Linked DNA regions of Homo sapiens: region 1 is linked to region 2. Evidence: promoter capture Hi-C in human tissues and cell types (Jung and others, 2019). All regions are on one chromosome and are shown on one strand. The core of a region is centred on a gene start or on the middle of the fragment in contact, and the rest is flanking DNA. Distances in the headings are between cores, read along the strand shown. Region 1 overlaps COPS8 (COP9 signalosome subunit 8). Region 2 holds the start of ACKR3 (atypical chemokine receptor 3).

Evidence for each region. The method cuts DNA at HindIII sites, captures the fragments that hold promoters and counts their contacts. A contact is called where the count stands out against the background at its distance.
Region 1: a fragment that was not itself captured here is called in contact with the fragment with the promoter of ACKR3 in region 2 in 1 of the 25 tissues and cell types used here (spleen).

The regions. Positions count from the first base shown.
Region 1 is chr2:237,099,209-237,103,306 of GRCh38, reverse strand. It overlaps COPS8 (COP9 signalosome subunit 8), which reads right to left. Exons shown (of 8, transcript NM_006710.5): 8 at 2,833-4,098. Among named protein-coding and RNA genes, the nearest start is that of COPS8, 15 kb to the right of the region's middle. The HindIII fragment of the contact is 7,817 bases long and covers 1-4,098 here.
Region 2 is chr2:236,567,283-236,571,147 of GRCh38, reverse strand. ACKR3 (atypical chemokine receptor 3) reads right to left here and starts at 1,323. Exons shown (of 2, transcript NM_020311.3): 1 at 1,224-1,323. RefSeq lists enhancers at 2,087-2,962, 2,963-3,838 and a silencer at 3,264-3,313. The HindIII fragment of the contact is 7,550 bases long and covers 1-3,865 here.

The DNA of each region.
Region 1 (4,098 bases), core at 1,104-3,603, 530 kb before region 2:
TTCTAGCTTAATCCCACTGTTTTCAGAGAATGCACTCATTTTGATTTCTACTCTTTGTAATGTATTAGGGCTTTATGGTCCTTTATGTGTTCAATTTTGGTAAATGGTTTATACAGCATAAAATGAAATTATATTTTGTCATTGTTGGTTAGTGTTTTATGTATCCCAATTAGATCAAGTCTGTCACCTTTGCTATGTTCTTTGTGATATTGTCTGTTCATGCCATCAGCTAATGAGAGGTGTATTATGTCTTCCAGTATGATTATAGATGACTCTTTTCTCCTTTTAGTTCGGTAAACTTCCACTTGATTATATTTTGAATATAAAATTAGAATTGCTACATATTCCTGTTGCCTTTTGGACTGATCTCTGTAGAATAACGGACATCCAAAAATGTCTATATTTGAATCCGTAGAATCTCAGGTTATATGGGAAAAGGAAATTAAGATAGCAGACAGAACTAGATTGCTAATCAGCTCACCTCAAAATAGACTGAGTATCCTGAGTTTCCAGGTGGGCCCAATATAATTACAAGGGTCCTTCAAAGTGGAAAAAAGGAGGCAGAAGAGAGAACCAGAGATCGAGCAGTGTGAAAATAACTCTACCCAATGTTGCTGGCTTTGAAGGTGGAGAAAGAGGGGCATGAGCCAAGAAATGCGGGCGGCCTCTAGAAGCTGGAAAGGGCAAGGTAACAGCTTGTCCCCTAGAGCCTACAGAAAAATATGCAGCCCTATTGACATAAGCCCAGTGAGACCCATTTCAGATTTGTGGACTGCAGAACTGTAAGATAATACATCTGTGTTGTTTTAAGCCATTAAGTTTGCAGTAATTTGTTACAGAAGGAAACTATATGCAATCTTTTTCATTAAAAATTACTTTCTATCTCTAATAATGCTTCTTGCCTTGAGGTCTACTTTGCCTAATACAATCACCCTTCGATATTCACAGGGGATATACTTGGCTTCAAGACTGCCAAGTATACAAAATCTGTAGATCAGAGTCCTTTATATAACATAGTATTTGCAAATAACCTATACACATTCTCTCGTATACTTTAGATTTAATACCTAATACAATGCAATGTATAATTGTTATGCTGTATTTTTTTAGAAAAATTTCAAATATTTTTGAGCCACAGTTGATTGAATCACAGATGTAGAACCCACAGATATGGAGGGCCAACTCTTACTATCAAAGGTGCACCAACTTTCTTTTGGTTAGTATTTGCAATGGTATATCTTTTTCCAACTTTTAAATGTAAGAACACAGAAATATTAAAAGAGGATCTTTTGTATATAGCAGTTAGGATTTTATTTTTCTTTCAACATGTTAAAAATGCCATTTCACTGTCTGGCTTTACCACTACTTCTTTGAAGATAATGTCCCCCCGGGTCCTCCCTCTGTGCTTTTAATATATTCTCTTTGTCTCTGGTTTTCAGTAGTTTTACTACTGTTGTCTGGGTGTGGTTTTCTTTGCATTTATCCTCTGTGGGGGTTTTCTGAGCTTTTTGAATCTGTGGATTGATTTCTTTCATCACTTTCAGAAAATTCTGGGCTGGTACTTCTATTTTTCCACTCTATATTCTCGCTCTTCCTTGGATTCCAATTAGATAAATGGTAGATCGCTATGCTGTGTACCACATGTCTCCAACACAATTGCCAGTTAAGTTCCACTGTTTCATTTCTGTACTTCAGCTTAATATTTTATATTGACCTGTCTTCCAGGAGCAGTTTTACTAATATTCTACTTCTGGTTTATATTTATAAGCAAACACCTTCCCCCACCCAACAACCTTGTTTAATGGAGCGCTGACATAGCAAAACTCCAGGAAAACGGAACTGTTTCTCAAAGGTTTTTGACTTGCTTTTTGGTCTCCTACCCTAGGCAGCTTAAAAGTTCACCAAATGTTTTGAAGGGTAAACAGTGTGGTTTAGCCCTCTCAAGTCTCCATTGTTATCACCCCAGCCCTTTCAAAGTGCCCAAATTCCACAGGTTGTTAGGTTATTCAGCAGCAGGCCCCTCACCAGGCAAAGCTTGAATCTTGCTGTGCCCTGTGGAATCAGCAAACACCTGCCACCGACCCTGCAAAGAGCTGCTGCAGATGACCTCATTGCAGTACTCTCAAATCTTAGCTCCACATTCCTCATTGATTTAGGGGCTGATGCCTCTCAAGGGATAAATGTGGGTATTCACCTATTAGTTATTGACACAATTCTGAGTTGGCCTCAAGGTACTTCAACCCAGGAACAGACATTTTCATACTTACTACCACCCCCTGACTTTTTGTCATTTATTTTTCAAGCAAACTCACTAATCCTGTTAAATTTCCCACATTCTGGAACTGGCTGTTTCTTAGTGGGATGTTTAACTTGTTCCATTAATTCTCACATTTTATGTAAAGTAGCAGATCTAAACCTTTAAATATATATATATGTACATGTATATATGTATATATTTATATACTATATATATGCATATACGTATTATATATATATATATATATATATACACATATATATATATACTTATATATATAAAATTAAATTCAGGTGCTTTCAGTCTGATTCATGTGTTACACACTTCCCTTTGATTTGACTAGGTCCCCGATCCCCGCCCCAAGGCAGAATAGCATAGGTATGTAAAGATATGTAGACAGATCACTTCTATTGATCTCCGGGAACAAGAGACAGGGAACCAGGAAAAGTAAAACAAGGAATGAGGAAAAAACAATTGAAGGCTGCATTAGAGAGCTTATGACCATGGGACACCACAGCTCAATTTTTTGGGGGTTCTTTTTGAGGATCTAGGTATAGAACACATTGGAAATAGTCTGCCCTGAGACAAGGAAGAGAGTGTTTATTCACCATGTCATGTTCACAACTGCTGATGGGCTGCCCAATCAGGTTTGTGTGGGCATCCTGATAGTAGTGCCAGGGTAAGTCCCAGAGCAAATTTTAGAGATATCCAATGGATCTGAAACAGGGTGCTGTCAGGCTACACTTGTACACAGATGGCTGGCTCAGAAATAGCCAGAGCACAAAGACAGGCTGATGGATGTACTGGACATATTTCATGCTCAATCTCAATTTCTTACCCTGTGGTCTCAACAGCATTGATATATATTTCCATGATCCCTTCTTTGTTTCATTAAGGGCTGCAAGTACCGTTTTTCTAACTTTTATCTTTATTCGGTGGAATTTTCCAGCATGAGCTTTTTGACTACCCTACAGGTTCGATTTTGTTGCTTTAGAGATTGGCAGCATATCAATTTGTCCTGAGAACTGATAATAAAGGGAAGTGAAATCAAGCACTTACCCTGCCTTTCTTGTACAGTGATGAGGTTATTAAGAGTTAAAAACAGACACATATACAAATATTTCATGCTCAAACTGTCTCATTTTTACATGGCCTGTAGAAATCCCTTCAAGTTGGCTTGTATAACCCTTTGACAGAATCCCAAGTCTTTAAGAGCCTCCTTGAATCCTGGACATCTTGTACCAGATATGAACTTGTACACTTACTGCCCTGGAACTATTAGCTGTTTTGCAAATAAGTTCTGATTCCTTTTAATTGCAAATGAAAATGAAAGAACACCATCTGGGTACTAGTGGTGCTCATTGTTACTGAACTGTAATTACTCTAGACCTTTTCATGTAGACAGGAGTGGGAAATATTTACTGTTTACAAAGAAAAATAAAGCATATAATGAGGTTTCCATGTCAAATTTAAGATTACTGGGGTCTAATGTTACATGATTATTAATTTAATCTATACTTTTAATAATAAAAAAGATATCAAGATTTTGTGAAATTAATCATGAAAAACCACATTCATTAGTCTAAGATTTTTTTCTGTCCTTAGTGTATATCCCACTGACAATGTAAAATTGAAATATTGTGTTTGATCACTTGAGATTATTTTTTCTCTATGTAGTAGTTCACTGTCCTCTCCTTCCTCTTTAGGGAACTATTATATTCATTTTGTATATATCCCCCAATTGCTTAGTTTTGAAATATAAGGAAATATGTACATATATATAATTGTAATCATTCTCCTTTTGTTACCCTCAAAATAACCATATAAACTACATGTGCTTT
Region 2 (3,865 bases), core at 74-2,573:
ATTTAAAATCTATGGAAAGTTAAAGCACAGAAACCAGCAGCCTCCACTTTCTTTGCTAGGCGTGCCTAGCTGATGTCCACATTTTTCCTGGAATAAATAAAGGGACACTAAAAGCAGCATCTGCCTTTAAAAAAGAAAAGAACAAAGTTACCATGTTGAGACTTTGCAGACTGAAGTTTCAGGGGATGTCACTGCACCAAATACATTCAAAGGGCTGTAAACCATTTAAGGAGGCTCTCTCCCACTTTTGAAACACTAAGTAATCCTGTTGTGAGCAAAAGGAAAGAAAGAAAGAAAGAAAGAGGAAGAGAGAAAGAGAGACAGCCAGTCTGACTTTTACAACTTCTCATTCTCCCTGGAAGTTACAAGTCTTGGCTAACCACCCATCCCTGACCTCACTCCAAAGTTCTCTCAGTCACTCCTTGAATCTTTGCACATGCCAACAAAATTGAACAAAATCCACATTTTACCTGAAGAGTATATTTAAATTGCAAAATAGTAGATTTGTGTGTGTGCTTCCCCCAACCCCAATTGAAGTTGGACTTAACACCTTCTAAGAGAACAATACTCAAATTAGATTAGCAAGCGTGCCATCAAGAGAAGAGAAGACCGGGCTGTGTTTAACATTCACGTTTATAGCTTCCGGACTTACAGACTCTGGTAAATCCCCCAAAGTACTGAATTCAAATACATCTTGGACTCACAAAGATTCTCAGCAGTTTTCTGCTCCATTTAAGGATGCCTCTTAATAAAGTGTTCATCATTCTGGAATTACGTATTTACTGCCAATTTTATCTGTTTCCAAACTGATATACTAGAAGCAAAACAGGTAAACAGTGGGTGCCAAGCTAATCCCCATGCCAAATTGGTCAGGCAGAATGGATAGTCTGTGTTCTTGCAAAGTTCCCCTGCTTACTGGAGCTTAAATAGCCACACAGCAAATAAACACCAGATTCCTAAATACACATGGAAATTTCCTTCTGCAAGTGACTTAAGAAAACTGCCCTTTGCTTTCTGAAGAGAAAGGTGAAGCCCTCCGAATTAGCAAAAGCACTTTGCAATGCAGCTGCGTGCAGCCTGGGTTTTCAGAAACCAGACCCGCAGACTCAAAAGCACCCATCTGAGCGATTTTAAAGAAGGCCTTTGAAAAGACCACTTGGCTTAAGAGCAGAAGCCGTGCCTTCTTTCCGAGCAGAGCTGCTGCCCGAGCACCGTTTCCTTACCTCCGGGCTGGCTGGGCTGGCTGGGCTGGCTGGGCTCGCTCGCCTTCCTGGCTGTGCTGTGCGCTGGCTCCCTTAGTGCTGAGCACTTTGCAACAACTGTGAGCTCTGCTGGCTGCAGACTTGCATTATATACACTGCAGAAAGGAGCCTCTAGCCTCTAGATGGCAGCTTTGTAACCCACATCTCTCTCTCCCCCGTGCCACCCCCATCCCACAGGCAGACACACACACACACACACCCCCCTCTTGTAAACCTCACTAGTCTGTTGTTTCCTGCACAAGTGTACTCTTGGGAAACCCCAGCCTTCTTTCATTTGCAAAATCTGGTGAAGCCACAAAGTCCAAACCCCACGGGGGGAAAACGTCAGCCAAAGACAAACTGCAAAGAAACCCTAGTGCTTGGCAAAATCATCAAATATTTATCTGGTCTCAGGTATATCTTGAATAATCCCATTAACACCAAGAGCTCCTGTGAATGCCTCTTCGCTCTAGGGAGGACTTTGTTCCCAAGACAAATTACTCTGAACTTCTGAACTTCGATGTTGATTTACTAAGCCTGGGTTTTCCTTGTTAATTCCTCCAAAACAGAAGTAACAGTTTTGGTATGACCAATGAATCGATGCCACACCGTATATCCCCAAAGTGGAGAAAAGAGTCTTTATAATAGATTATACTTGAATACTTTTATTTGTAAAGGACTTTAAGTACAAAATCCTTGAGACTCTAATCAAGATAGTATTCTACAGTGTCTGCCCAGTGCCAGACACGCATTAGGAAGATAATAAATGCCTTTTGATAATGTCTTTTTCTGAGATGAGTCTGGCAAACACTTTACTACAATTATTGCAATCTACATTCTTATTTGGATGCGTATTGCTAAAGTTCCCCCCACGGAGGAATTCAACCTAAAAATGTGATCCAGGTGATACTCATCTCCAATGCCCCATTTACAAAAATCGTCCATAAGATAGGGACCCAAAGGCCACCCGCCAGCCCATCCCATGTGCAATGCTCTGGCTTTCGTATTGCTTTCTGATCTCCTGGAGTTCTTAAAGAGCGGCTCAAGTGGAGTGTATGAAGGCACCAGCTGTATTCACGCCTTCTCCAGAGCTAAAACTTTTCGAGATTCTTTTTATACTTCTACTAAAAATAACAGCAGACGCTCGGTCCCAGCGCTGAATCTGGGGGACTGGGAGGTCAAAGTCTCACGTGGCTAGAAAGTCTCCGTGTGGAGAAAGCCCTTAACGAAAGAAATATTTTGTTTAGCTAAAAGCTTCACATTTTTCTCCTGAACTGGCTGCCCAGCGGGAGGCGAGGTGCACACCTGCTCTCCGGGGGCCTCCGGAGGGGTCGCCCTGGGGCCGGCCTTTCCCAGCCCGAGCGCAGCGTCCCGCCACCGCCTCTGCAGGGCGGCGCAATCACTCTTCGTGTCACATCGGCACCAAGGACATCTCCAGGCTCCCCAGAGACGCTGGAAAGGAAAACTGCCAGCGGCTGCGTCTACCCACACCCAAGATCTAGGCGAGACCTCGACTCTCCACAGCATACGTGTCCTGACTTTTTCTGTCCTGTTTCTTTCTTGTGGGGGACCCTGTGTCTGAGCCCGCTGGAAATGTACGGGGATCCCCTCTGGACTGCAGCTCGGTTTCCGCTTTCTGTGGCTGTAGCCGTGACTCCGGGGCCTGTCCTTCAGAGAACGCGCTCCGCATTGCAGAGCCTGCGCGCCCGGTGGAAACACAGAGTGGGTGTCAATCCGTTCTGAGCTAAGTGTACTGTCGCTGGAAGAAAGGCCACATGGGCCGGGGACCCCGGACAGGATGCTAACGTAGAGGAAGGAAAAGGCAACGCAGTTTTTTTAAAAAGTAGAACCCGCTTCGTGCGTCCGGGGCCAGAATCCACGAGGCCGCCTTGCAGCAGCCTGCGCCCTGCCCCGCCAGCCCCGGCCCCGCGCCCACCCACGGCCTGCACCCAGCCCCGCACCCACACACGGCCTCGCGCCCTCCCACAGCCCCGCGCCCTGCCCCGCACCCACCCACGGCCCGCACCCACGCCCTTCCCCGCGCCCAGACTTGTTCCGCACTCACGCACGGCCGGGCACCCGGCCCAGGCGCCTGCGAGAATTCTGGCCCCGGGGTCACCGCCCTCGCCCTTCGACGTCCCCCACCCGTCCCCTAGTTCCGCCGGGCGGGGCTGCTGGAGGCTTCCAGACGGGGAGGGGCGGACCAAGCGCCAGCGGGGAATGGGGCGGGGTGGGTCGGGAACTCTGGCCAGGCTCCCACCCTGGGAGGAGGAGCTGGGTGCTTGGGGCCTGAACTTGGCTGTCTCCTTGGGCCTCCCACCCTGTCCCAGAAAACAGGCCTGGGGGAAAACGAGAGGGTAAGCAAGCAGGGCTTTTTGAGAAAACGAGATTCCATTGCCCTAGGACCTAAAAGTCTCTTTTCAAAGTTTTGAAGAGTGTCTCTGCTTTTGGAAGATTGTGCTTTCAGTGTAAGGGCAGAACTCCACCTCCATCCTCTAGGGGTCCCGGCTGGGTCCGAGAATTAAATTGACATAAGATAGATGAATAGGAGGAAAGCATAGTGCAAGTTTCACGCGGCATGGGAGCCCTCATACAGAAATGCAGACCCGGCCGGGCGCGGTGGC